7 separate regions of the Homo sapiens genome follow, and all the other regions are linked to region 5. Evidence: promoter capture Hi-C in 16 types of primary human blood cells and fetal thymus (Javierre and others, 2016). All regions are on one chromosome and are shown on one strand. The core of a region is centred on a gene start or on the middle of the fragment in contact, and the rest is flanking DNA. Distances in the headings are between cores, read along the strand shown. Region 1 has its middle 2.8 kb from the start of PAIP1. Region 2 overlaps NNT-AS1 (NNT antisense RNA 1). Region 3 overlaps NNT (nicotinamide nucleotide transhydrogenase). Region 4 holds the start of LOC124900190 (a long non-coding RNA gene). Region 5 holds the start of FBXO4 (F-box protein 4). Region 6 overlaps HMGCS1 (3-hydroxy-3-methylglutaryl-CoA synthase 1). Region 7 overlaps C5orf34 (chromosome 5 open reading frame 34).

What was found. The method cuts DNA at HindIII sites, captures the fragments that hold promoters and counts their contacts. A CHiCAGO score of 5 or more calls a contact.
Region 1: a contact is called between a fragment that was not itself captured here and the fragment with the promoter of FBXO4 in region 5, in 6 of 17 cell types (non-activated CD4 T cells, activated CD4 T cells, naive B cells and 3 more). The highest score is 9.0, in non-activated CD4 T cells.
Region 2: a fragment that was not itself captured here is called in contact with the fragment with the promoter of FBXO4 in region 5 in 4 of 17 cell types (naive CD8 T cells, total CD8 T cells, non-activated CD4 T cells and 1 more); the score reaches 7.7 in naive CD8 T cells.
Region 3: a fragment that was not itself captured here is called in contact with the fragment with the promoter of FBXO4 in region 5 in 1 of 17 cell types (total CD4 T cells); the score reaches 5.4 in total CD4 T cells.
Region 4: a contact is called between a fragment that was not itself captured here and the fragment with the promoter of FBXO4 in region 5, in 2 of 17 cell types (non-activated CD4 T cells and activated CD4 T cells). The highest score is 6.0, in non-activated CD4 T cells.
Region 6: a fragment that was not itself captured here is called in contact with the fragment with the promoter of FBXO4 in region 5 in 3 of 17 cell types (total CD8 T cells, activated CD4 T cells and non-activated CD4 T cells); the score reaches 7.3 in total CD8 T cells.
Region 7: a fragment that was not itself captured here is called in contact with the fragment with the promoter of FBXO4 in region 5 in 2 of 17 cell types (fetal thymus and total CD8 T cells); the score reaches 5.7 in fetal thymus.

The regions. Positions count from the first base shown.
Region 1 is chr5:43,557,867-43,561,808 of GRCh38, forward strand. No RefSeq gene overlaps it. Among named protein-coding and RNA genes, the nearest start is that of PAIP1, 2.8 kb to the left of the region's middle. The HindIII fragment of the contact is 889 bases long and covers 1,236-2,124 here.
Region 2 is chr5:43,597,893-43,601,831 of GRCh38, forward strand. The region is part of intron 1 of NNT-AS1 (NNT antisense RNA 1); the gene reads right to left. Among named protein-coding and RNA genes, the nearest start is that of NNT, 3.3 kb to the right of the region's middle. RefSeq lists an enhancer at 3,312-3,481 and a cis regulatory region at 3,397. The HindIII fragment of the contact is 3,540 bases long and covers 1-3,539 here.
Region 3 is chr5:43,615,946-43,619,792 of GRCh38, forward strand. It overlaps NNT (nicotinamide nucleotide transhydrogenase), which reads left to right. Exons shown (of 22, transcript NM_182977.3): 4 at 1-120; 5 at 3,087-3,174. Among named protein-coding and RNA genes, the nearest start is that of NNT-AS1, 15 kb to the left of the region's middle. The HindIII fragment of the contact is 2,643 bases long and covers 680-3,322 here.
Region 4 is chr5:43,506,156-43,510,011 of GRCh38, forward strand. C5orf34 (chromosome 5 open reading frame 34) reads right to left here. Exons shown (of 13, transcript NM_198566.4): 2 at 2,990-3,220; 3 at 2,422-2,511; 4 at 1-239. The coding sequence starts at 3,184. LOC124900190 (a long non-coding RNA gene) reads left to right here and starts at 3,214. Exons shown (of 3, transcript XR_007058764.1): 1 at 3,214-3,856. It overlaps C5orf34-AS1 (C5orf34 antisense RNA 1), which reads left to right. Exons shown (of 3, transcript XR_007058763.1): 3 at 53-1,042. The HindIII fragment of the contact is 2,348 bases long and covers 1,185-3,532 here.
Region 5 is chr5:41,922,641-41,926,614 of GRCh38, forward strand. It overlaps FBXO4 (F-box protein 4), which reads left to right and starts at 2,641. Exons shown (of 7, transcript NM_012176.3): 1 at 2,641-2,858. The coding sequence starts at 2,670. RefSeq lists a silencer at 2,899-3,078. The HindIII fragment of the contact is 6,278 bases long and covers 1,176-3,974 here.
Region 6 is chr5:43,307,420-43,311,334 of GRCh38, forward strand. HMGCS1 (3-hydroxy-3-methylglutaryl-CoA synthase 1) reads right to left here. Exons shown (of 11, transcript NM_001098272.3): 2 at 347-405. Among named protein-coding and RNA genes, the nearest start is that of HMGCS1, 4.0 kb to the right of the region's middle. The HindIII fragment of the contact is 902 bases long and covers 1,383-2,284 here.
Region 7 is chr5:43,488,939-43,492,641 of GRCh38, forward strand. It overlaps C5orf34 (chromosome 5 open reading frame 34), which reads right to left. Exons shown (of 13, transcript NM_198566.4): 10 at 3,277-3,371; 11 at 1,693-1,791. The region is part of intron 2 of C5orf34-AS1 (C5orf34 antisense RNA 1); the gene reads left to right. Among named protein-coding and RNA genes, the nearest start is that of C5orf34-AS1, 6.9 kb to the left of the region's middle. RefSeq lists an enhancer at 1-44. The HindIII fragment of the contact is 215 bases long and covers 1,326-1,540 here.

The sequences.
Region 1 (3,942 bases), core at 430-2,929, 1.6 Mb after region 5:
TAATCCCAGCACTTTGGGAGGCCGAGGGGGGCGGATCACCTGAGGTCGGGAGTTCGAGACCAGCCAGACCAACATGGAGAAACCCCGTCTCTACTAAAAATACAAAGTTAGCCGGGCGTGGTGGCACATGCCTGTAATCCTAGCTATTCTGGAGGCTGAGGCAGGAGAATCGCTTGAACGCAGGAGGCAGAGGTTGCAGTGAGCCGAGATCGTACCGTTGCACTCCAGCCTGGGCAACAAGAGCCAAACTCTGTCTCAAAAAACAAAACAAAACAAAACAAAAACCAGGTGAAATTAATTTAAATTTATTTAATCCATTATGTTCAAAATGGTTTTTTAACATGCGATTTAAAATATTAAATATTTTCTCTGTTTTTTAGATACTAGTTGAAATCCAGTGTATATTTTACACTTATGGCACATCTTAGTCGGGATTGGCACATTTCAAGGGCTCAAGAGCCACATGTGGCTAGTGGCTACTGCGTTGCACAGCACAATTCTAGATTTTATTAATATGTAAATTGTTGTTTTTGTCAGGCCTGACAGTATTAATGCCAAATAAAGGATAGATGAATATAAGTAACGACAAGGAAGGAAAAATTGATTTCTTTACTGTTGGATTGATCCATCTCCATAAATTCTGATTTTAGCCTTTTGTTTTAAGCAGGGTTTCATGTTTTTCTATCTTTTCATCTTAAGAATCATTTCAATTAGGGACACAAACTCTTGTTAACCGTTTTCTCTTCTCATTAATAAAGAAAACAATGTCTTCCCCTAAACGAATGAGAAAATGGCTTCACCGAGGGCAATCATGAATAAATGGTTCATGCTATTGATGTTAGGCAAAATAATGAAGTCAGGGAAGGAAGCCAGCAGTACGTGTGGCTCTTCGGTGTACGGAAAGTTTAGGATTCAGTCTGCCAGAGCTTAGTTGGGATTCCACTCTTGACTATTGCTGTCTGTGTGATTTTGAGTAAGTAAGGGGTTTAGCTTCTCTGAGCCTCACTTTCCTCATCTGTAAAATAATAACTGTGTGGTAACACTCAGCATATATTGCAGAGACAAGATTACAATTTAAAAATTACAATTTTAATATTTTCAAATTCATTATTGTATGTGGTCACCAGTCACTTCTTGCCTGGACTTTTTTATCATACAGGAAAGACCCATAAACTATGCTAAAAAACTAACAATGAGTTATGTTCCACTGAAGTAGATGCCCCAACTCTGCCCCAAGCTTTTGTTTGCACTCACCACCTTTTCATTTCCCCTTAAAACTTTTATGATGAACAGCACCTTTTCTAACAACTGGGACTTTCCCATGTGAAGATAAGGCCATTCTGCATCCATGGTGATGTCACGACATCTTCACACCCTCTTGTTAGGAAAATTAGGTAAGATATCCTTTGCCTTCTCTGTATTTGTTACTGTATAACTTTTGCCCTATTCTTATAATGTGTGGATGGTGGACTTGGAGATAACACGAATGGATTTTGCATCATGATAATAAAAATATCTAATATTTATTATGCGTCAGTCACCTTTTAAGAGCTTTTATTTTATCATTTTATTTTATCCTCATATCCTGTGAGATAGACATTCCAATATTTTCACTTTACATAAAAGGTGCCAAGATACCGCAAGGGCTCAGATCCATCTTGGGACTGTTTTAGAGCTAACTGGCAGGTATTGCAAAATGCATAGACAGAAACACATGAACGTGTGAACACCATGTGGAACTCCCTAAAGAGAATCATCAAAGTGCTCCTCATCCACGTGTATGCCTTTTTTATTAATTTATGGTGAAAGGAGAGTAGAACTAAATTTGGACAAATTGGAAAATATGTTGTAATATGGAAAAGGACCTGCTGTGAACTATGAAAAAAATGTTTCCTTAAACTGTACTTGAAAGGCATTCTCCAGTAAGACTTCCCAAGCTGCCTAATCTTAGATTCTCTCCCTTGTGATAAGTATACCCTGGGAAAACTGTCTTGGTACTTAGCATGCCAGATTGTTATCGTTAGTATTTGGTTTATTTAAATGTCTCCTTCCCTAAACTAGCCCTCTGAAGACAGAGGATGCCTTTTAATCCTTTAGGTCCAACCCAGTACTTAGTCCATAATAAGCTTTTAACAGAAATAGGACTCACCTGCAATGGTCCTGCCTTTCCTTAGGTCACCAGTCTAGTGATGGTAAAAAAAAAAAAAAAAAAAAAAAGACTGTTTTTTTAGAACTTATTGACCTCAGGATCATCATTAGACCTTATGGGAGTAGACAGTACAGCCTTCAAGGCCAGCTAACAGGAGAAAATTTTCATAAATATGCAAGAGGAAATATTTGCAAACCACATGGTATAGTTTGTATATTTGACCCTCCAAGCCTCCTGTTGAAACTTGATCCTGAATGTTGGAGGTGGGGCCTAATGGAAGGCGTTTGGGTCATGGTGGCAGATTCCTCATGAATGGCATGGTGCCATTCTCACAGTAACGAATGAGTTATGGTTTTACTAGTTCCCAAGGAGTTTCCCCAAGAGCTGGTTGTTGAAAAGAGCCTGGCACACTCCCCCTGTCTCATGCTTCCTCTCTTGCCATGTAATCTCTGCACACTGTCTCCCCTTCACTTTCTGCCATGCATAGAAGCAGGCTGAAGCCCTCACCAGAAGCAGATGTTGGTGCCATGCTTCTAGTACAGCCTGCAGAATAGTGAGCCAAATGAAACCCTTTTCTTTATAAATTACCCAGCCTCAGCTATTCCTTTATAGCAACAAAAATGGATGAAGGCACCACATATTTGACAAAAGACTTGTATCTAGAATATATAAAGTACTCTCAGAACTCAACTGTATTGAGAGTACTATAGCCAGGTGCGATCCCAGCACTATGGGAGGCTGAGGCGGACAGATTACCTGAGGTCAGGAGTTCGAGACCAACCTGGACAACATGTGAAACCCCGTCTCTACTAAAAATACAAAAATTAGCAGGCATGGTGATGCGTGCTTGTAATCCCAGCTACTTGGGAGGCTGAGGCAGGGGAATCGCTTGAACCCGGGAGGCAGAGGTTGCAGTGAGCCGAGATTGCACCACTGCACTCCAGCCTGGGTTGAGCGTGACTCCGTCTGAAAAAAACCCAAACAAACAAAACACCTAACTCAACTGTAAAAGGACAGTTCAGTTAGAAAAGGGCCAAACATAAATGAAAGAACACTTCACTGAAGGGAATATACAGATAGCATAAGCCTATGAAAAATGTTCAACATAATTAGCCAGTAGGAAAATTTTTTTAAAACCACTGAGATTTCACTACCTACTTATTCGAATAGCTTAAATAAACAATAGTGACAATGCAAATTCAAGGATGTAGAGAAACTAGGAACTGTGTTGCTCATACATTGCTGGTGAGAATGTAAAATGCTATAGTCACTTTAGAAAACAGTTTCTTTAAAAAACTCTACATATTAAGTACTGTACTACCTAGCAATTGCACTGCTGGACATTTCTCACAGAGAATTAAGATTTATATTCACATAAAATCCTGTACCCAAATATTTAGAGTGGCATCATTAATAAGAGCCCCAAATTAGAAAGAACCCAAATATCCTTTGATGAATAGTTAAACTGTGGTACATTCATACCACAGAATGCTACTCAGCAAAAAAAAGGAACAACTGCTCATATAAGAATGTTGATGGATCTCAAGGGAATTATGCTGAACACAAAATTTCAATCTCAAGAGCAATTGTATGATTCAATTTATGACAAAATTATGAAGATGGAGAGCAGATTTGTGGTTGCCAGGGGTTAAGGAGGGAGTGGAATTTAGAGGCAAGTAGATGGGGTTATTAAAAAAGTAGGTAGCATGAGAAAAACCTTGTGATGGAACTATTTTGTTCTTTACTATAATGATGGTCACATAAGTCTATACATGTGATAACATTGCATAGAA
Region 2 (3,939 bases), core at 520-3,019, 1.7 Mb after region 5:
GCTTGCAAAGAAAAGGTAGAGCAGGGAGAGCATTCTAGACTGAAGGAAAAGCATGCGAAAGGCAAGGAAGTATGGAATTGCTCCATACATTCAAGAAACATCCAGTGTTTTGCTACAGCTAAAAGGAGGGTAGTAGAGAATTTTCTCATGTTTGGCTTGAAATGTTTGTGGATATCTCAAGGGCAATGACCAGCAGGCAGTTGGCTGCAAGAGTCTGGAGCTTAGGAGAGAGGTCTGGGCTAGAGATTGAGCTTTGGGAGTGGTCCTAGCACAAGTAACATTGTACACAGAGAAAGTATTAGAGTTAATAGCAGAGAGGGCCAAGGGAACATTAGAAACGTGCACATTTAAGTGGTAAAATAATTGAGAATGAGCTGGGTGTGGTGGCGCACACTTGTAATCCCAGCTACTTTGGGAGTCTGAGGCAGGCAGATCACTGGAGGCCAGGAGTTCAAGACCAGCCTGTCCAACATGGTGAAACCCCATCTATCAAAAATACAAAATCAGCCAGGTGTGGTGGTGGTCACCTGTAATCCCAGCTACTTGGGAGGCTGAGGCAGGAGAATCACTTGAACCCATGAGGCAGAGGTTGCAGTGAGCTGAAGTCACCCCACTGCACTGCAGCCTGGGCTACAGAGTGAGACTGTTTCAAAAAAAAAAAAAGAAAAGAAAAAGAAAAAGAAAGAATTGATAATAAATGGTAGGAGGAGAGGAGATAGGAGAGTATAACGAACCAGTGGAGGTGAGATATTCTGGTTTTTATTTTTCTATTATGGGTAACATGTAGCATAAAAAAAGATCTTCAAAGAGATGATGCTTTGCAAAACTTATATTAAATTAGAACTTTTAATCAAATGCAAAATTTAAAAAGTGAAGTATTATAAAAATGTTAAGCGTGTTAAAGCAAACTAAATATGGCCTGAGAAAGACTCCGTACTTCTATATTTGAGTCTTTGTGGATGAACTGTAATCTAACTTAATAAGCAAAATTGAAAACCTGACTTAATAACTATGCACCTGTAACAGGAGCTGAGTGGTGGCCAATCCCAGCAGCCATACTTCAACCACTCATAGACTACTGAATGTTCAAACTGCATTCAAATAAGGCAAATGCTGAGCTGTAACCAATCTCACTGTTTCTGTACCTCATTTCCAATTCCTGTACCTCACTTTACCTTTTTTGTCTATAAATTTGTTCTGACCACAAGACACCCCTGGAGTCTCTGTGAATCTGCTGTGATTCTGGGGGCTGCCCGATTCATGAATGGTTCATTGCTCAATTAAACTCCTTTAAATTTAATTTGGCTGAAGTTCTTTTATCAAGTACTATTATGGGGTTTTATAATCAAGTAGTTTGATAATGGTGATAAATATATGATATATAGAAATTGCAGGAAAAGTTCAATTAGGTTGAGTGCTTATTAAACCAGTAAACCGGGTATATAACTAAGGAAATTTTTCCCCAATTATTAATACAAAATGACTTTCACCTGAATTTCCCTCAAATAATTTGGATTTTCACTTTAAACTCAATAACTGGCAAATCCATCCCTCTTCAAAAAACAAAGAAACTTCCCCCCAAAGACCCCCAAAACCCTCTTTACAGTGTGTTACCCTTAAACACACAGAATGCCCATGTAGTGGGCTGAATAGTGTTCCCCCTCAAAGTATCTGTGTCCGCCTTTATTTGGAAATACAGGCTTCGTAGATGTAATTAGTCAAGGATCTCAAGACAGAAACCATCCTGGACTTAGGGTGGTCCTTAAGACCACTGACTGGTATCTTTATAAGAGAGAGGAGAGGGAGGTTTGGACACAGGCACATAGAGAAGAAGGCAATGTGAAGATGGAGGCAGAGATTGGCTGCATTTATAAGCCAAGGAACACCAAGGACTGCCAACAACCAACAGAAGCTCTGGCAGAGGCATGGGATGGTTTCTCCCTCAATGCTTCCAGAAAGAATCCACCCTGCCAACCCCTTCATTTTGGGCTTCTGACCTCCAGAACTGTGATAGAAATGATTTCTGTTGTTTTCAGCCACCCAGTTTGTGGTAATTTCTTACAGCAGCCGTAGGAAACTAACATAGCTTCTATTCCTCACCAGCTTCCCAGACCCCCTAAACTATGATTACACAGATAATTTTTTTTTTTTTTGAGATGGAGTTTCACTCTAGTCACTCAGGCTGGAGTGCAATGTGATCTTGGCTCACTGCAACCTCCACCTCCTGAATTCAAGTGATTGTCCTGCCTCAGCCTCCCAAGTAGCTGGGGTTTCAGGTTTCAGGCACCTGCCACCATGCCCAGCTAATTTTTGTATTTTTAGTAGAGATGGGGTTTCACCCTATTGGCCAGGCTGGTCTCGAACTCCTGACCTCAGGCAATCCGCCTGCCTTGGCCACAAAGTGCTGGGATTACAGGCATGAGCCACCGCGCCCGGCCAATTTTTTATATTGATTTAAAAACCCATAGGTTTTTGTAATTGGTACTTACATGAATATGCAAAGGACAATATTCACAGTAGTATGCCATGAGCTAGTTTTTTAAATGCTCACAGAAATTTCAAATGCAAACTGGTTTTACTTATGTAGCTTAAACAAATGCCAATTGTTGAACTTTGTGCTGGCTCTTTAATATCAGTTCTCTTTTTTCTTCCAGTTAATGTTGATTAGCATCAGCTCATTTAGTCAGTTAACATTTATTTCCTAAAATCAAACACTCTTGATTGGTCAGCCTGGGAGAAGAGGGCTAAGATTAAGGTTAGTGATGGTTCCCTTAAAACCTGTCGAGTGTCTGCATTGTTAGACACACTGAAATCTAAGAATCCCATCTCTCTGGGGCTGTTCACTTTACTAATAATTATTTATAAAAGGGAAGCTGAGACAATAAATTGCCAATAACCATGTAACATAATAACCACAATGAAAAGACATTAAAGCTACCTTTTCTGTAGCCTGATTTTACCTAGATGGTGGGTTTTGGTAACAAGCCATCACTAGAGGTCAGTTTTTGATTACATGTCTTCTCAGGTTCAGCCTATGTTTTGATTTTTGGCTACTGGGCACCTCTCTGGTTTTTAGGCTTTAAAGCAGATCCAAATGTTATATTATAGTCTTGTAAATGTTTCATCCTTTTTGCTTCTGATAGATTAGAACTCTAATTATTAAAAACTATTTTTAAGCATTTGTGACTACAAAAACTCCTAAACTTCAAATGGTTTAAATTTTGATGTTTATTTTAATTTTAAAATATTTTAAAAATTATTCAATAATAGAACAATCTGTAATGAAAACTTACACATATGTGAGAGGTACTATTTTAAGATGAGAGTTTGCAGGTCAAATTAGTCAGGGAGGAAAGAGTAGAAGTCAGAGTGGGAAAGGCCCTTAAAACTTAATAGGGAATATCAAATCTCTACAAAAATTTTATTCAAGACAGTGTCTAAGACTTAGAAGCAACTAACTTAAAAGCAAACTTTTGGAACTTAATCCTATTTTCATTGGGGACTCCGTTTATGAATAATATGCTGTAATTATACGTAGAAGCTTAAGGACTGAAACAGAGCATTCCAAATGACAAATGTTTTCTCCTGAAGAAATGGCACCCAAATTATGTTGTACAAGTAAGCGGAATAAAATAATCATATGCTTGTTATTAAAATTATCATATGCCTAACATTCATGATTTTCAAAAGTGAAAAACAGTATGTTATCTTTGAGTTTGTTTTCATGTGATATAAATTTATAAGCAAGTCAAAATTAAATAATGTACTGAGCATTAATTTAAGCCAGGATTTTTCAGCCTCAGCACTATTGACATTTGGGGCTGGATAATGCTTCGTCGTGAGGGGCTGTGTAGTGTGAGGTGTTCAGTAATATCCCTGGCCCCAACCCATTAGATAGGTCCCCTCTCCAATTGTGACAACCAAAATGTCTCTAGACAT
Region 3 (3,847 bases), core at 751-3,250, 1.7 Mb after region 5:
TCCAGAGTTGCTAAATAAACTTTCCCAAAGAAAAACTACAGTTCTGGCAATGGACCAGGTTCCAAGAGTCACAATTGCTCAGGGATATGATGCGCTAAGCTCCATGGCCAACATTGCGGGGTAGGTTCTTTTCCATTTCAATTGAACAAAAGCGCAATAGTGCTACAGAAACCTTCACACTGTAGCTCTTCTGTCTTACAGTGATTTTATTTGTAATTATTGTTGGAGATTACAGCCTTTTGAGAGTGCATTTAAATTATTTTTGACTCATTTTATTGTTTTACAGTAATTAGATAGGAAATGAACTCTATTTATATTCCTTTTTAATCTTAATGAGTAGAAGAGTAGTAATGTTTCCATTCACCAAAGCAAATAGCTGTCAGATTATTTGTATGAGGAACACACTGTATTTCATAAATGTGTGTGTACATGTATATGTAAGGTTGAAGTTACTGTTTTTATAGGTCAAAAATGGTAGAATAGTGACAATTTCATGTGGTTAAATTAATATGCATATATTAGTGGATTTGCTGTCTTAATTAGGTTTTGCTTAGGTAAATTTATAAAATATTTAAAGAATAGGAAAAAGGTCTGGACTAGAGGAAGTTTCATCTGATGTCAAAACCCATATTGATAACTGAGGGCTATGTCTTCGACCTTTAAGGTCAAGATGGTAATAAGCTTCATTTGCCCAATAGCACTAATACATTCTATGTTGATTGCCTGGAGTACTATGTTGAGAAGGATTCTAAGGCCCATTCTGCTTGGAGGAATGTGGCTATGATTGAGTAATCATGCCTGCCATGGGTGAGGGACAGGAATAGCTACATGAAAGCAGTGTACTGCTGACTTTGCCTTAAAGGGTGGGAACAATCTGGAAATGGGATAAGGCTTATGAATCAACTTCTCTAAGAAACTAATTAAATTAGATTTTAATCATGAAAACTATTAGTAGTTGAGAATTTGCTAATATTAATGAGGCACAAAGAAAATAACCTTTTTAAAAAAACAGTGCATAAAAAGACACTAACATGACTAACATGAATAAAGCCTTCTATAGCCTGACACCTAAGCAGAAAGTTTTCTTAGGTTTTATATTTTAGCATAGGAAATATGTCATAGATTCTACTTTGTGTTTTAGCTGCACACTTTTAAATTTATTTAGCCTGTAAGGGAGTTATATTATGCAATGTGTGACTTAAAATTTTATCTAGAAAATGTATAATGTAAAGTTTTAAGGGTGCTGTTGATTCTGAAATACACATATGTGAAAGAATATCAAAACCAGTCGCTCTAGATCAAGTGGTTTTAGCTGTTGAATCTTTTGAGCAAATGAAATATTATGAGACAATATAAATAAATCCAGTAAGAGCTGAGTAGCTTTGGGTACACTGAGTATGGCAGGATTGTGCAGAAACATTCCTACTCTCCATCTCATCCACTATGGCCCCAGATTTGTCTGAAGTTTAAACCTTCAGGGACCCAGGGATCACAATTTGAGGAATCACTCTTCTATGTCCTGAGCTGATATATGCAGAGAGCATAGTGTGAAAGGAATCATCTAGTATACATATCCATACAATGTATGATAAATCATTATCCGTCTCATTCATACACACAGCCATATTACAGTGAAGATGTGCTACTTCCACTTCATTACTGTTCATTCTGAACTTTTTTGCTGTCATGAAGAAAATGTCCAATTTATTACTTTTTTCACTATCAATGTTTCCTCGTACATTTCCTGTGTAATCTCCTTTTATTATTTATTTTTCAGAATAGCAACTGAATCTTTTAGAGCATTAATTCCACAATTAATTTCTTACAGTGGCCTTTGAATCTTTGTCATATTTGCCCATTAAAAATTGCTGTCATTTGAATTCAGGAGAGCAACAGATACTGTAATCTCTAAAGTATTGTTTTTTGCTCCAGTGTGATTAACTTAATAATGGTGACTTTATATGTTTTTGCATCAATTATTGTATCAAGTATTATTATGTAAAAATATGATCAGGGAGAAGATTTTCTTGTCACCTAGCAGGGGAGTTTTAATAGTTGCTTTATAATATTGAGCCAGTGTATATATTACCAAGTAAGAATGCAAAAGTGCCTTTTACATATAAATTGCTATGAAAATGAAATTAGTGTAGCATGTTAAAAATATCCTGTTAAAGAAAAGATGATGCATATTATTTGATTTATTAAATAGTTTGTTTCTTTGGCTAAAACACTTAATATTCACTGAGCATTTTCTATGTGACAGGCTTTATGCGAAGTGTTTCACCTGCGTTATCTCATTTAGTCCTCACGACCCTAAAAGATAGATGCTTTTTGTCCTTACTTTATAGATGAGGAAACCAAGGTTTAGAAAATTTTAAAAATTTGCCCAAGGTCACAAAGGTAATCAGTCAGAGAACTAGGACATGAACTAAGGTCAGTATATCGGAAAATCCCATACTTTGAACCATTAGAGATCAAGGGAAGTGTTTCTTCTGTTCTCCGAGGTTGAAATCTTATTTTGTACAAGCCTATGGCTGACCTAATTTTTTTTATTTTAAGGATTTTCCCCCCATTACCTAAGCACTACCCAGTCATCAAACAATATTTGGACTATATAGTAAAGTAAGTGTGAAGGATGTATAGTCCTAGTACCCAAAGAAAACCATTGTTAGTATTTTCCTATCTTTCTTTCATTACATTTTCTATTATGTTCTACAGTACTTGTTATGAAGAGGGTGGGTGCATAATGGATAAGAGAGTGCCTCTGTAGGCAGACTGCCTGTGTTAGACTTCTGGCTCTACCATTTACTAGCTGAGTGACCTTAGGCAAGTCTCTCAGTCTGTATCTCAGTTTTCTCACCTATGGGATGAAGACAGTAATTGTACCTTTCCATAGGCTTGTTGTGCAAATTAAAGGAGCAAGTGTATATACAACACTTAGAACTGTTTTTGACACATAGTACATACTACATAAATATTAGCTATTATTCTTTGACAAAACTTCATTGATGACTTATGATGATATGTGAGTCTGAGATCTCTCCTTTTATGGAATTATTTATTTATTTATTTATTTATTTTTAAAGTTATAAGGCTGTTGTCCTAGCAGCAAATCATTTTGGACGTTTTTTTACTGGTCAGATCACAGCTGCTGGAAAAGTTCCTCCAGCTAAGGTAGGTACAACTTTTAATGTTTCTTTATAATATGCATTGATTAAAGGAAAGGGTATGTATAGTCTTAAAATACAGTTATTTAAAAATTTTTATATGTTAACCTCACTGATGACTTTTTGGTGTGTATAAATATTTCACGAAACCTCAAAGCTTAACGTTTAAGATTGCTAGAAAAAAATGAACTTTGACTTTCTGAAAGTTCTAGTCTTTTCTGTTTTTTGACTTTACTAATTTGAATTTTTAAAAGAATTTTGGATAACTTGTTCTCTGTAGCCTATATATTATTAATTTTTAAAAAAAACTTTCAAGATACCATTCAGCAGATTCTGGGTTTCTCAATTTTTGCAACATTTTGGCACATATACAAGGTATTTTTGGTTTCTTCACTTCTTGTCAATTTTTGGATCAAGAAGACAGGAAATGGGAGGTGGTGTAATCAGAGTATTTGGCAGAGAGAAATGGTGCCAGTTTCTTTAATCCACACTGAAAGCAGAGAGGAGCAGTTAACGATGAGAGGTGACGATGGCTTGCTGAAAGAATAGGAGGTCATATTGTGATCCTTCAATCCTATGTACACTCAGTAACAATGGAAACCCTGAGGCTAGGTGTCTTAGTCCATTTTGTGTTACTAAAAGAGAATACCTGAGACTGGGTAATTTATTTTAAAAAAGAG
Region 4 (3,856 bases), core at 1,109-3,608, 1.6 Mb after region 5:
TCAACTAGTTTATCTTTTGGGGCTTTATTATTTGTTTCTGACAACACTGCAGATGAGTCTGACTTCTGGCTAACTTTACACAAAAAATGTACTGTAAATTCATGCTGAGATCTGGGCAGGCAGAGGTATGCATGACCATCTAAAGATGTTATCTTCACAATGCCACTCTCCATATATATCATGGTACCATCTGTATCAAGACTGGGCCATCTCACTTCTGTTATGTCAATGAAGATATGCTGCAAGGAGAGGGGAAAAGAGACGGTGAGTATTTTCTGTTAACAGTCCAATTTTTCCATATATTTGATATTTAAGTATTGTGTAAGAAAGCTCTTAAATATTTGTGTTTTACTATCTACAGAGAATGAAAAAATGGAGGGCCAGATCTCAGCCTATATATGATTTTCCAGAGAATGTTTGATATTGTTAAGATTATCACCCTTAAAAAAAAGAGATGTAAAACAGACACAAAATGAGAGAAATGGTCATATTTAGTGTTAAATGTATTTTGGTTTTAAATGTACAATGAATTAAACAGATTTGTATCCCTCCCCTCACCCTGCAAAAGTTTACTCTGAAAAAAAACTAGAAATAAGGGAAGACCAACACTATGATACATTATATTAAAAGCAATCATAGCTAAAAATTTTTCTTTAAGTTTTAAATAAAAAAAAAAGCAACCATAGCTTAAATGGTACAGGACTACCATAAAAATTATTGACAGAACAACTCAGAAAATTCAAAAACAAACTCAATCATATCTTAAAATTTACATGAGATAACATAAGTTTTTCAGAGCAAGAGGGAAAAGAGAAAATTATTTAAACTAGTACTAGAATTACTGAACAGCATTTGGGAAATTCTGTCTTGCAGGGTTATCACATGAACCAAATAAGGTAACATGTAAAAAGTACCCATCCTAGGTAGTACCTGGCACACCATACACTAAAATAAATTTCAGGAGGCTTAGAGGAAACTTTAAAAAAGTTTAATTACTCAAAGAAAAATTGATTCTGACTAATAAAAGACTCATAACAAGTAACAGTGTTGATTGTGACTTTTCATATAAGATATAAACAGTAGATATTGCGTGAGAGGTTTTTACTGAATTAATTTTGCCAAGCATTTAGCATTTCAATTCCATTTATGTAAAATCTTACGTTTACACAAACTATTGTCAAGAAAGCTTCCTAAATTTACCATGCTATCTATATGTACGATGTTAGGACACTAAAATTGAGGGCTGTATTTACTGACAGCAAAGCTGGTTTGTAAGGATGGTCATCAAACTCCTCTTTTAGAATTAGACTATCTAATAATCCTGCTGCAGCATCAGCAACAAGCTAGGCAGTTTCAGTGAATAAAGTGACTCAAAAGACACAATGGAAAATTACCATTCTAGGCTAAGTTACAACTTATAATTTTTTATGGCTCCTTTGCCACGAGACAATATAAAATTACTCAGCCGGCAGGCAAGCATCTTGACAGCATAGAAAGGTAGCAGAAAGTAGTTGAGAAACAGAGTTTACAGAGTCAGATAGACTAGGTTCAAATCCTGACTTTGCCACTGAGAAAACTGCCATAGACAAATTAGGTAAACTCTCTAAGACATAATTTCCTTGCCTATAAAAAGAGGCTGCCGGCCGGGCGCGGTGGCTCACGCCTGTAATCCCAGCACTTTGGGAGGCTGAGGCGGGCGGATCACGAGGTCAGGAGATCGAGACCATGCTGGCTAACATGATGAAACCCCGTCTCTACTAAAAATGCAAGAAATTAGCCGGGTGTGGTGGCGGGTGCCTGTAGCCCCAGCTACTCGGGAGGCTGAGGCAGGAGAATGGCGTCAACCTGGGAGGTGGAGGTTGCAGTGAGCCGAGATCGTGCCACTGCACTCCAGCCCTGGCGACAGTGTGAGACTCCGTCTCAGAAAAAAAAAAAAAAAAAAGAGGCTGCCATCTAGCCAATATACCTGTTTTGATTGGATGGACATCCATTTTGATCAGTATGGTGTTATTAAATATTTCTAATATTGTTCATAGTTGTTGGACATAGTAAACCCTCAGTAAATGACAGTTATTATTCCTAAAAGTCCAAACACAATACTATATAAGCAAAATAATAAAGGTCATACCCATAGTTACATATTTCTACTATACATTAACAAATACGCTGTTACTGAAAATGGTCACATAATTACTTAATTTTGAGACCTCTGAGAATGAAAAAGTCACCAATCTAAAAATTCTGATTATAATGCTTGGATACAAAGAAAATGGCAAGGGGGATACACTATGTAACTTTGATGTTTTATAGCAATGTATCCCCAGGTGTCCTGAAAAGGAAAAAAAGGCTAAATATTAAATTACCTGTTTCTAGTTACTTGTCCTCAAATAATACTAACAAAAATGAAGTTAAAAAAATCACCTTTTTTCTTTCAGAAGGTATGATGGTTTCAGATAAAAAAGGGCAAGTAGCTGAAGAGTTTCGAAAATCTAGGGCTCGCTGTAGTTGCTCCTATGAAAAGAAATATAAAATGTAACCTTAATGTAAAATGATTTGAAAATCAATTAAAAATGACAGTACAGTATAATCCATAATACTAATTACTTTTCATATTCTAGCCACGTCAACAGTATTTTGGTATTCAAAGAGTAGTTTTGGCCAGGCACGGTGGTTCACTCCTGTAATCCTGGCATAATGGGAGGCCAAGATGGGAGGATTACTTGAGGCCAGGAGTGTGAGAACCAGTTTGTGCAACATAGCTAGACAATGCTCTACAAAAAATTTAAAAATTAGCCAGATGTGGTAGTGCACACCTGTAGTCCTAGAGTAACTCCCTTGTAAAAGGAGGCTGAGGCAGGAGAATCACTTGAGCCTAGGTGTTCGAGGCTGCAGTGAGCTATGGTAGTGCCACTGTACTCCAGCCTGGGTGACAGAGCAAGAACCTGTCTCTAAAAAACAAAAAAGTTGTTTACGTGATATCTTTACTTACTCTGTAAGTGCTAATGACAAAATGTGTCCTTTGACGAATTCTTTCTGGTTGTTCTAAAGGATGTGCTGAAACAGGTGGTGACTTTTCAAATAAAAATTCAGAGCCACAGGGAGAAAGTTGCAATGTGGAACCATCAACATATTGTACTTGTACTGAATCATCTTCATAAAGTATCATTCGCAGTTCAGCTGCCATTACAACGGCAGGATAAGATATCTTCTAAGTCAAAGACTGAATGAAATAGGAAAAACAACAGCATAAATAGTTCTCTTAATGTACAAAACTTTTATCAAAATAAGTGCGTGCATTTTCTAAGAAGATGACATTGCCATTGCATTTACTTTTGTTAAGAATACTAACTACACTGGATAAATCTGAAATGAACATCCTTAACAAAATGCCTTAATTAACCCCTAGAAGTTTACTCCAATGGAGGAACATAACCAAGAAGAGACAACCACAAGTGATAACTGTCTTTATAATTTTAATAGCTTCACTTCTACTGAAATTTAATTTTTGTAAATTATATGCTTATTATTTAGAAGCTTATAACTTCTAGAAGTTTACTCCAATGCAGGAACATAACCAAGAAGAAATCTAATTTCTTTTTGTTTTTTTTGTTTTTTTTTGAGATGGAGTCTCGCTCTGTCATCCAGGCTAGAGTGCAGTGGTGTGATCTCGGCTCACTGTAACCTCTGCCTCTCAGGTTCAAGTGATTCTTCTGCCTTAGCCTCCTGAGTAGCTGGGATTACAGGTGTGTGCCACCATGCCTGGCTAATTTTTGTAATTTAGTAGAGACGGGGTTTTACCATATTGGTCAGGCTGGTCTGGAACTCCTGACCTTGAGATCTGCCTGCCTCAGCCTCC
Region 5 (3,974 bases), core at 1,391-3,890:
AAGTGCGTGTGTGTGTGTAGTTAAAAAAAAGAAACAATGGACCCATAACCAAAACTTTAAAAAATGGTTACTTATGGTGGAGGCAGGAGGAGAGGAACCAGATGGAAAGGACCAGGATGGAAGCTAGATTTCTCAGAATATATCTTGAATTTTCAACATTTGACTTTGGTACATATGTTATTCTAAAACGAGATTTAAGCAAAGTTAAGAAAAGCCCTACAAGTCCAAAGCAAAATGAAACAGACGACCTGCATTGCATATCAAGTTGATGGCTTGAATACACAGGTATGTTTCAGTTATCTTTAAAGCATAGTAATTTGTATGTCCATTCTTAATGGGATATATCCAAGGGCAAAAAGAAATGTGAAGAAATCTTAAACTCTTCAGTAATTAAATTGTTAATCATAACTATGTTAATATAATTAGAAATGAGGATTTTTAGTGTATGAGAAAAGATACATACAAAATCAAAGAGTAAAAACAATCTGTAATCCTAAATTTGAATGGGAAATAACACGAAGTTATGTTTTCTCTATATAAAAGACACTAGAAAGGCCTGGAAACCATGTTCAAATACCATTCCCGTCAAAATGAGCCAGAGTTTTCTGGAAATATAGCTAATTCTGGCTTGAGCAGGACAATCAAATGACTGACGGAAAATTTTTCTTTAATTCAGCTAATAAAAGGAATTATAGAACTAGAATACTAACATTTTATAACTTGTAAGCAAATAATATTCATTGATAAATGCTCTATCTTTGAGGTGAAAAACTTACAGGAAATTTGAATGGATCAGCCCAGTGAAACCACTGATCACTCCGAACATTAGAAAATGAGAATGACTTGTAGCTTTCAGTCTCAGTATATAATACCATTTACGAATGTGTTAAAGACACTATTGAGATGCCATTAATAGTGTGCAGGCCGTGTTCAGTGGGTCACACTTGTAATCCTAGCACTTTGGAAGGCCACAGCAGGAGGATCACTTGAGCCTGGGAGGTCGAGACCAGCCTGGAAAACATGGTGAAACTCCATCTCTACTAACAAAAAAAAAAAAAAAAGAAGAAGAAGAATATAGAAAAAAGAAAGTCCAGAGTGGTCCAGAAAGACCAACCTGCTTTCTTTAACAAATATCAAGGGAAAATAAAGGAGGGGGAGCTATACAATGAAACTTAAGCTTTAAGAGTATCCGTAATGTGTGACCCTTGTTGGGCTATGATTCAAACAAATCAAATGTGAAAAATTATTTTCAAAGCAGATGGGGAAGTTAAACACTGACTCGGTATTTGGTGATTTTAATGAATTAAAATTGCTTAGGTACAGTGGTCTGTTTCTTAAAATCTGTTTTTTTTAGGGACGGATACTGAGATATTTACAGATGATAGGTCTGGGATTTGTTTCAAAAGGATCCAGAATTGGGGGTGTAGTATTAGGTGAGTATAGCAACAGCACAAGATTAACCAGGTGTTGGTAATGGAATCTTGGATACTGGGCACACAGGAGCATATTATTCACTCTCCTTTTATAAATGTTCAAAATTTTCCGTAATAAAGTTTTTCTCATTCATTTAACAGATATCATTTTAATACTTTATACTTGAACTGATTTTTTTTCTTGCTCTAGTTCGTTTTTTGCTCTCAAAGTAAATCGTGTCCTAGAAAGTGATGAGAAATGCCATATGGTTAATCCGTGGTCCTTGTCCAGATTGCCTCCCAAAAACGAGGCTGCAATTTTATTGGTTATTGGCCCCTACCAACAACATGCAAATAATAAAATGTAATGAAACTTAAACTTGTATGTTACAGAGCCTTGCAGAACCTTAGTTATCAGGCTTTCTTGGATTCTGTTGACATTTAGATCCTCAGAGATTTACTTTTTGAATGTATACATACCCAGTTCTATGTAACAGATTAACTTGTAATACGTTCTCTTAAAGCACTTTTAAAGTAAGCCCAAAGTAAGTAGAATGGGCATCTGGTTTGAGAATTAAAAAACTCACTAGTGGGATTTCAACACCACCACATCTGGGTTCTTCTAGCCGTTTTTTGCCGCCCTTGCAAATTTTAAATGTGCTTATATTTTTGCATAGTGGGTCCAGACTTCTCATTTTGGCAAAAGGTTCTTTGTAATTGGCCCGCTGACTGCCTCTCTAGTCTGTTTTTGCTGATACTCAAGAAAATAAATGGTAACTTGGTGATTGAGGAAATAACACACACAAAAAACACCCCATACGTAGTATGGTAGTGCTGAAAAGGAAGCAAGTGGTTATTAAGCCCAAGACAGTGGCAGAGGTCTATCGAACAAGCGGAGTCGCCTAGGACCAGGCATAGTGGAAATGATCCCGGAGAGAACATCTTGAATGAAGCCAGGAAGTCAGCGGGCCAGAGGTTGTACAGGGGCTCTGCGGTTGGCGTGGCTGAGGTTGAGGCCACAAGTTACTGGGGAAGTTAATTGTTGACAGGAGCTTCGTACTCGGCTCACAGCCACGCACAGTGGGCTTCCTCCCAGTACCCGCCCTTGCCCCTGGGCCTAACCCTGCCCTGGAGGCGGACTCGCGGGAGAAGCGGGAGGCGGAACGCCCGAGGGCGCCCTCGGCTGGCGCGGAGCTGCGCAGGAGGCTGACGCGCTAGCGTGGCTCTAAGACGCGTCACCCACGCTGCGGGCAAGCCATGGCGGGAAGCGAGCCGCGCAGCGGAACAAACTCGCCGCCGCCGCCCTTCAGCGACTGGGGCCGCCTGGAGGCGGCCATCCTCAGCGGCTGGAAGACCTTCTGGCAGTCAGTGAGCAAGGAGAGGGTGGCGCGTACGACCTCACGGGAGGAGGTGGATGAGGCGGCCAGCACCCTGACGCGGCTGCCGGTGAGCGTCGGCCGCAGGCCGCGGAGGACAGTGGGGCCGGCCCGGGCCGGAGGGACCTCCCCTGGAGCCCCCCGGGGCCTGGGGAACTCTCGCGCCCCGGCCTGGGTCTGGCTCCGTCCATGCAGCCATTCCTGGCAGTGTAGTCACCGAGAAGCTACAGTTGATCAGAAGCGTCTTGGCGTGGACCCTGGTGCTCCGCAGGGGGCCCGAACATCTCAGGGAAGCACCTTCATGGGGCCCCTGGGGACCCTCCCGATCGCCCTCAGGTTTTCCACCCGCCAAAACAGGCACATGTGACTAGGACACCCTGAATGTCCGGTTACGGAAATGAGACAGTTCCCAACTTGCTGATTAGCTTGGGAAAGCATTCCAGCGTCCCTGTTCCCAGCGTCTTTGATTCCGGATCACTGTACCAAAACACTTGGAGGGCCAAGGTTTTTACCCTCTCAAGAGGACATTGTGCCTGTGGCTGTTATTGTGTATTTGAAGAAACAAAACGGCCCCTCAGTTGAAAATAAATGACTTAAGTTACAAGTGCCTCAAGTTACATCAAGGCCACGAGAATGACACACATAACTTATTGTTAAACTTTGGGGTAGATAGGTAAATGAAGAGAACAAAAATTATTGAAAATTATTACAATTCTTTGTCTCATTTGGACTATTGACACCTCTCTCCAATGTGTATATCAACGTGAAAGCTGCAGGTTTAGAATGCCTCCAAGTTTCTCCTTGCAGAGGTTTTTCATAACATTTTAATAGATTCTGTAGAGGAACTAAGATGACAAATTTACGGCCGGGCGCGGTGGCTCACGCCTGTAATCCCAGCACTTTGGGAGACCCAGGTGGGCGGATCACGAGGTCAGGAGATCAAGACCATCCTGGCTAACACGGTGAAACCCCGTCTCTACTAAAAATATAAAAAATTAGCCGGGCTTGGTGGCAGGCGCCTGTAGTCCCAGCTACTTGGGAGGCTGAGGCAGGAGCATGGCGTGAACCTGGGAGACGGAGCTTGCAGTGAGCCGAGATCTTGCCACTGCACTCCAGCCTGGGCGACAGAGCGAGACTGTGTCTCAAAAAAGAAAAAGACAAATGTACACTCTTTGATTTGGTCTGA
Region 6 (3,915 bases), core at 584-3,083, 1.4 Mb after region 5:
TTTTGAGGCCATAATTTAAAAAGCACTAATGGCAGTCATGTTTACCTCTGATTGTTTCTGATTAAGTAGTCCATGTAATTACATTTTATTATAAGTACTTTTTCTCTTATGAGTGAACACTAATTTTTAAAATTTGTTTCTAGATTTTAAACATTAGTCTAATAAACATAAAATTAGTTTCCTGAAGCATTAAAGCATTAACAGAATTTTAAAGATGAGGTAGAACCCTAAAAGGGGTTTTAAGAACATATGGCACAAACAAATCGTTATTTTCTCTAGGATACCAAGTTTCCTCCTTCCATTAGAGAGGAATACTTTCCTTAAGCAGCATGACAGGATGTCATACCTGTGTGAAGGATAGAGAACTGCAGTCTCCAGGTCTGTCACTGTTTCCTCCTTCGGGCACTAGGAATTTCAAACAAGAACTGCTTTTAAAGTTATAAATCACTACCCAAATTCAAATACTAATGAATCCAATTCAAAGTGAGTTAAAATAAGCAATTCCTTATCCAATTACATTATGCAGAATAGAATTTGACATTTGCTTAGAAAAAATCATACTTAAAGCTTATAGAACATTTTCCCCCTTATTTTCATAGCCCTTATAGTGAAAGGTTCAGTCCTGGTAATAAACGGATATAAGAAGCCTACTATTGCAGGAAGGAATAAACAAAAAAACCTCAAGGAAATAAGAAGCCCATGTCACCAATTGAGGCTTTAAACCAAGGTTTTCAAGAATTGGGGGAAAGGAATATAAACAAGTTGTAATGAGTTAGCAAATTTCTAGAGTAAAGAGATATATGCAGTCAAGAGCCTGCACTGCATGTAACAGATTGTGGCTTTGGCAGCAATTCTGGACCTCAGTTTCCTCATCTATAAAATGAAGCTAATACAGTTGCCCTCCCCAGATCATTGTGAAGGATTGCTGAGATGATAAAATATGTGAAGACACTTTGTAACACAAAGCACCAATACACTGACTATTACCTTAGTTCTTATAGTTCTTATAAGTGTTTTTCAAAGAAAATAAAGGTATTTTTTCTAGCAAGACCTAATCATTTTCAACACTGCCACCTTCACCCTCCCAACCTTTTATAAAGTGATTTTCCCTCTTACTGCTTATGTTAAAAAATTAAGCATTTAGACAAAGGAGCATTAAACATTATTATGTAAATTAAGTAGAAATAATTTGCGAAGGTGACTGGAACATATTCTTCAGTCCATCTGTTTTGAAAGACTGATTGTTACTTGAGATGGCAACTTCTATGTTTAACACAGCATACACCATTTCCTCTGCTCTCTATTTAATTACTGGCAAATTTAGCATCTGCCCTTAATGGATTCACTGGTAACTACATTCGGATGTTATTAATATTTAATAAAGCTTTACTTTTTTTACATAATTACATAATTTAAGAGCTCTTCAGTCGTAGCGCCTTTTACTTCATTAACTAAGTTTACTACCCACCTACGCCCCCCTGCCCCATAAAAAGAAATAGATCTTGAGTTTTGTAGGCAAAGAATACTACAATATTCCAAAAATGTCTCTAATTAACTGTAATTATACATACTTTGAGAAAATAACCTATCTTTGTTCTTTATTATCTCAAATTATGCCTTTGTCTTCTGCAAATTAAGCAGACCACAGAGACCAGTTCTTGAAAAACAAGATTCCTTCTCCATGTTAAGACTACTTAAATAATAATATTTCTTCTTGATGTTCATGTATGTATATGCATTTGACACTACTTGTATCAAGGAAATTTTCCTTGAACTGCCTATATTCTGCCTTTCCTTGCACTGCCTATATTCCCTCAAATTTTTTTTTTTTTTTGAGACAGGGTCTCCCTCTGTCACCCAGACTGGAATGCAGTAGCATTCCAGTCACTGCTCACTGTAACCTCGACCTCCCAGGCTCAAGTGATCCTCCTGTCTCAGACCCCGCAAGTAGCTGGGACTACAGGCACATGCCACAATACACAGCTGATTTTTGTATTTTTTGTAGAGATGGGGTTTTGCCATCTTTCCCAGGCTGTTCTCCAACTCCTGGGCTAAACCAATCCACCCACTTTGGCCTCCCAAAGTGCTGGGATTATAGGCGTGGGCCACCTTGCCTGGGCCCCTCTTTCTATTTTGATTACTTAAATTGGAGAGGGATGTTAGGTGGGAGAGACACAGAGAACAAAGAAGAAACAAATAGAAGATTCAGAAAGGATTGCTGTGCTACTTAAGGATTTCTCTATTCTGGCTAAACCAGTATTGCCAAAGTCTCAAGCAGATCACAAGCTTATTTCTAACAGGTCTTTTCAGAGTAAGTGACAGAGGGAATCAACATGGGTCAAGAAGCAGTTAATGAATGGCAAGTAGCCAGGCAGGTTACCACAAAGCAGGTTTGCAGACTCATGGGATGAAATATAGGCACTTTGAGTCTGGCAAAGACTAAAACACAAGAATGATAAGACTGCCTAGGGCCAACCAGATTTATGCAATGGTAGTTTCTTCTGGAGTTTACTCAGTGTTCTGAATACTTCCTTCTGGCTCCCTCCTTAGCCTTGATTCAAAGAAGTGGTTGGAGAAGTTCATTGCCTACACATTTTGGTATGTAAACTATAAAATATAAACAGTTACCTATTGATCTTTCTCATTGTTACAGGAGATAAATCTAGGAAATTAAGAACAAGTTGGCAACCTTTCCTCCTTAGGAGCAAGCAAGTAAAAACTAATGTTAAGAAAGACTTGCTCAAACCTGTACACTCTGGTATAGTTCTCCAAGTAAAAAGCATGGACATCCCTGCCTCCTCCCAGAGTTACTGGTCTGCGTATCAGAGATTCTACTCATCTTCAAGGCCCTGTTCTAAGTCACCTCTTCCTGGAAGCTTTCCTCGATAAATCACACAGAAAATAAGTTTTCTAATCAGGGACCTGCACTTCTACAGAGGTAGGTCATTCATACCCAAGTCTACATAGCCTACTCTCTATGGAAAACTAGTTATGGGCAGTCTTCTTATCCATACAGGATTCCTACACTTCTTTTGGGAGAGGGGCTATATATTTTGATTTTTTGAAATCCCTTTGAGACCTTGAAGTAAAGGGTACTCAAATGTCACATTTTTCAGTGGCTGAATTTGGAGTTATAACTACTAGAGGACAAATCTTTTAGATTTAATACTTGTAGCAGCCCTCAGTAGTAAGTGCTTTCTGCTATCACTTTTTAATTTTTTTTTTAATTTATTACTGCTCCTTGCAGAGCAGGGCTACTCTATATGTAGTGTGTCCAGAGTAGCCTGCTATCAGTTTTGAGATGAGCTGCAGCACCATAATGTCTAGTTTAAAGAAACTGGCTCTTTACTGCTACTGTTCAAGGCATATGGTAGGTTTCAATTGTTCCCAGATTCCAAGGTGAAAAATGTAAGAAGCCCATATGGAATCAGAAAACATTTGTTGGTCTTACAATCATTCCCATATGCACCCACAACTAAAAACCCTGCAAAGATGAAGACAACACTTCAGGCTTTCAAAGATTAGCCTCTCCGCTACTGGTGTAACTACACCCAGTTGACAGACATTAAGTGAACATCAACACACGCCATGCATTAGGATGAAGAGATTAAGAGTCTAGTTCTAGCCAGGCATGGTGGCTCACGCCTGTAATCTCAGCACTTTGGGAGGCCAAGGCGGACGGATCATTTGAGGTCAGGAGTTCAAGACCAGTCTGACCAACATGGTGACACCCCATCTCTTCTAAAAATACAAAAAAATTAGCTGGGTGTGGTGGCACATGCCGGTAGTCCCAGCTACTTGGGAGGCTGAGGCAGGAGAATCACTGGGAGGCATAAGTTGCAGTGAGCCGAGATCACGCTGCTGCACTCCAGCTTGGGCGACAGAGCGAGATTCTGTCTCCCCAAAAAAAAAAAA
Region 7 (3,703 bases), core at 183-2,682, 1.6 Mb after region 5:
AGATCACATGCACCTCCCTGTCAGCTTGTACTCTTTCCCTTGTACTCCAGCCTATGGATGGAGAATGAAAAGAAATATTTCATAATTTTAAACACCTGTGGCAAAGAACTTGGATACAACTTACCCCAACAACCAGCTGATTGTTCATTATTGCAAAATATCTTTTTTTTTTTAAACCCAACGCATTTTTCTGGATGTAAGAAACAATACAACCTTTATTGTTATTGCTCTCATAATGAACGAACTTTTTATGAAACGTACTATTTGTTGACTAAAAAGTTGAATTAATAAGCTAATAATGGAGGGTGTGGCGGAAAAAAAATACTAGAATACAACTTAGGTAGCTTTTTATTGTACAATCTTGTTTCTTCCTTCAACCTACCCTCTTTGATAAGAAAAACCGAAGTGGAGATACCTAAGGCTTTATAGGGGGAATGGAGCTACTCCTCAATTTCTTTATCTTGCCTCTGCTGTTCCTAGTTGCTTTCACCTTTAGCTACTATCACCAATCTCTACTTGCAGTTTTTAGTGTGTATTGACAGCCTCTTCTCAGCTTTCAAATAAAAAGGCTGATGATATTTTACAAACTGCCAGCTAAGCAATGGTGAAGTGATGGTTTTATAGACAAGTACAATTTTCCTTCCATCACAATTGTTTTTTGCTAGTTACTTTAGCAACTTTTCTGCTTCCAAACAGGCTACAGCTAAAGGATGAGGGATCTGCAAAGCTGGATCCTTAAGCTACCTGAGATATTCAAATAACGCTTACTGATATGATTTGATTTGTTCTAAGAAAGGGCTTAGGAAAAGGTAACAAAAATTGGCTTAATGTTTACATTTTGTTTCACTACACTATGTTAGGTCACCTCACAAAACTTACTTAAAAAGCTTCCCAAATTGTTCCTGGTATCCCTGTCTTCCCATATATTCAGGTTAGACTCTCAGTGACACTAATCTTCTAATGACCTTTCTTCCTATCATTTTTCCATTTAGGACTTTCTAATTCCATCAGGTCTGAACTCCTATTTATTATAAGATCCATTCCTAGCCCTCAAAACTCATACTATATACTAATAGATAGCATATGTTCCATAAAAACTATCTTCTATCTCCACAGGCTAAAATATCCTTTTTACTTCTGCCCTTATTTCCTCCCTAAAATGTCTTATATTTTCACAGAAAGTTCCCTTGAAGCCCAGTTCTAGTACCCTGCACACTGAAAAGCACACAGGAGGGACTAAAATACTTGCTTTATTTGATCTGCCAGTTAATTTGGGAGAAGTAACTAATATGACAGAAATTATTTAAAAATCAATGTTTTCTGAAAGCTTATGTTATTAAACCTTTTATTTCCTTCAACATTACTAAAAATTTAAGAATCCCCTTTAAATTTTTCCATAAAGTTTTCAGGATGAATTTGTCACATAAAAAGAGCCACTCATTTTCATGTTAAGTTTTCAATGCAAGGTTTTCTTACCTTTAGGTAAAATAGAATATGATGAAATGTAATAAATTAGATGTCTGATTAGAAATTATTTTCAAGCTTAAGCTATCAAAAATACTTTAGGAGTTAAACATATTCAAAACTAAGAAAGTTTTTTTGGGGAAAAAAGTCTCAGTTTACCATTTGACATTTTAATTTTTTTTAAAGTATTAGCTCTTCTAAACAGATTTAAGTTTAAAAGAAAAATACCAATTTTCTTGGAGAACAGAAGATGACGAATGAGTGGGCATCTCTCTGGGACTAGTCTGGGTCAGTCTCCTGCACCATGATGTTACTGTTGTCACATATCTAAAGTGAATACATTAAAAGAAATACTTGAAAAATGAACTTGAATACATTATAAAATTATAAACAAATGTAAAAATAAGACAATTTGGGAAAAAAGGATAAAGAAAAAATGTTAAAGTGAAGCATTTACTGGGCAATTCTCAAAATATTTTTCACTGGTCATAGAAAAGCCAAATTTTTTCCATTATTCATCAAGAATAAAATGATTTACTTATATTTGTGATTAATACAAGTGACATTTAAGAATCAAAATAAAGGCGATATTTGGATTTCATTTAAAGTTCAATTTTAAATGTTCTAATTCTTTTAGTTTTTCAAAGTAAAATGCGTTTAAGTTTTATCAAAAAATATTCACACAAAATAAGACTGACTGAGCATTTGCTTACTAAAATTTAAACCAAAAAACACCTGCTAATGCATATACACATATGCTTGTATGCATATGTGTAATTATATGTAACTTACTACATATCTAAAACAAGTATCAAGTTTAATAAAATGAATGATCTGAAATGATTGGCTGAATCAATAGAAATGTTTGCTAAAGAAACTATCTTTTTTGAGGCAAATCATTAATAGCAATGAATGAGCACTTAGACTGAAACACAATAAAACCCAACAGAAAAATACATTCAAGAGGTAACAAAAAGCTATTATTTTGTGAATATTCTCAAGTGAAATCACTAAAATGTGAAGACTATCACAAGATTTACTGTAATAAATTAGATAAACCAAAAGAAAAAAAATTCATAAAAAGCTGAAGACTCTTCCCCATTTTAAGATAATCATTGCGTAATTTTATCCACTTTATAGAAATATACAGAATTTCAGTTATTTGTGGTTGCAAATCTTATTTCAAATTGGCTAGAGGATTAGTTAATTGTTAACACAGCTGACCATATCCAACCTCCACAGCAAATCAGTATGTCTATAACACATTTCATTTTGAAAAGTTACTTGAATACAAATGAAATGATTAAAGCTGACCTGAAGGCCGGGCATGGTGGCTCATGCCTGTAATCTCAGCACTTTGGGAGGCCAAGGTGGGCAGATCACCTGAGGTCGGGAGTTCAAGACAAGCCTGACCAACATGGAGAAACCCCATCTCTACTAAAAATACAAAAATTAGCCGGGCATGGTGGCACATGCCTGTAATCCCAGCTACTCAGGAGGCTGAGGCAGGAGAATCGCTTGAACCCAGGAGGCGGAGGTTGTGGTGAGCCGAGATCGTGCCATTGTACTCCGGCCCAGGCCACAGGAGCAAAACTCTGTCTCAAAAAAAAAAAAAAAAAAAAAGCTGACTTGATCTATTTAGTTATGCTAAACACAAGTACAGCTATCAACTCTGAAACGACTGAAATGCCTTCATTATTATCCACATGGAAAAACTAAAAATATATATAACACTTAAATAATGCTTATTGCTTATTCTCTGTTAGTTAAAAGTAAAACATAAAAATAATTTTTAAAATTGCTTTTCAGTACCTTTCATATGGTTCAGGGTGTTCAATCTGAATTAACTGCTCTTGTCCATCAGGAAAAGTTAACTTACACCAACCTAAGTTAAGACCTTGATTTACCTGAAGAAGTAGAAAGATAAGTTTTATCATTTTAGAACTGAAAAAAAGAACATAAACAACCTATTCTAACTTCATTAACTTAAAGAAATAAGTAGAGGAATCATTAAAGATGCAACAGTTTAAATGTTGTTTACATGAGATATGGGTGTTATTTAACCACCACTCATATAGGTAATTATCAAAGCAAATGAAAATACTAATCCCTTTCTCTATAATCAGTTATCTTTAGAAAAGTGACTATTTGTCAAATCATTCTGATTTTTGCTAGGAAATCCAAAGAGATCAGTAAAGCTTCTTGACAGATTTTATACTTCAAAAAATGAACTGAAATA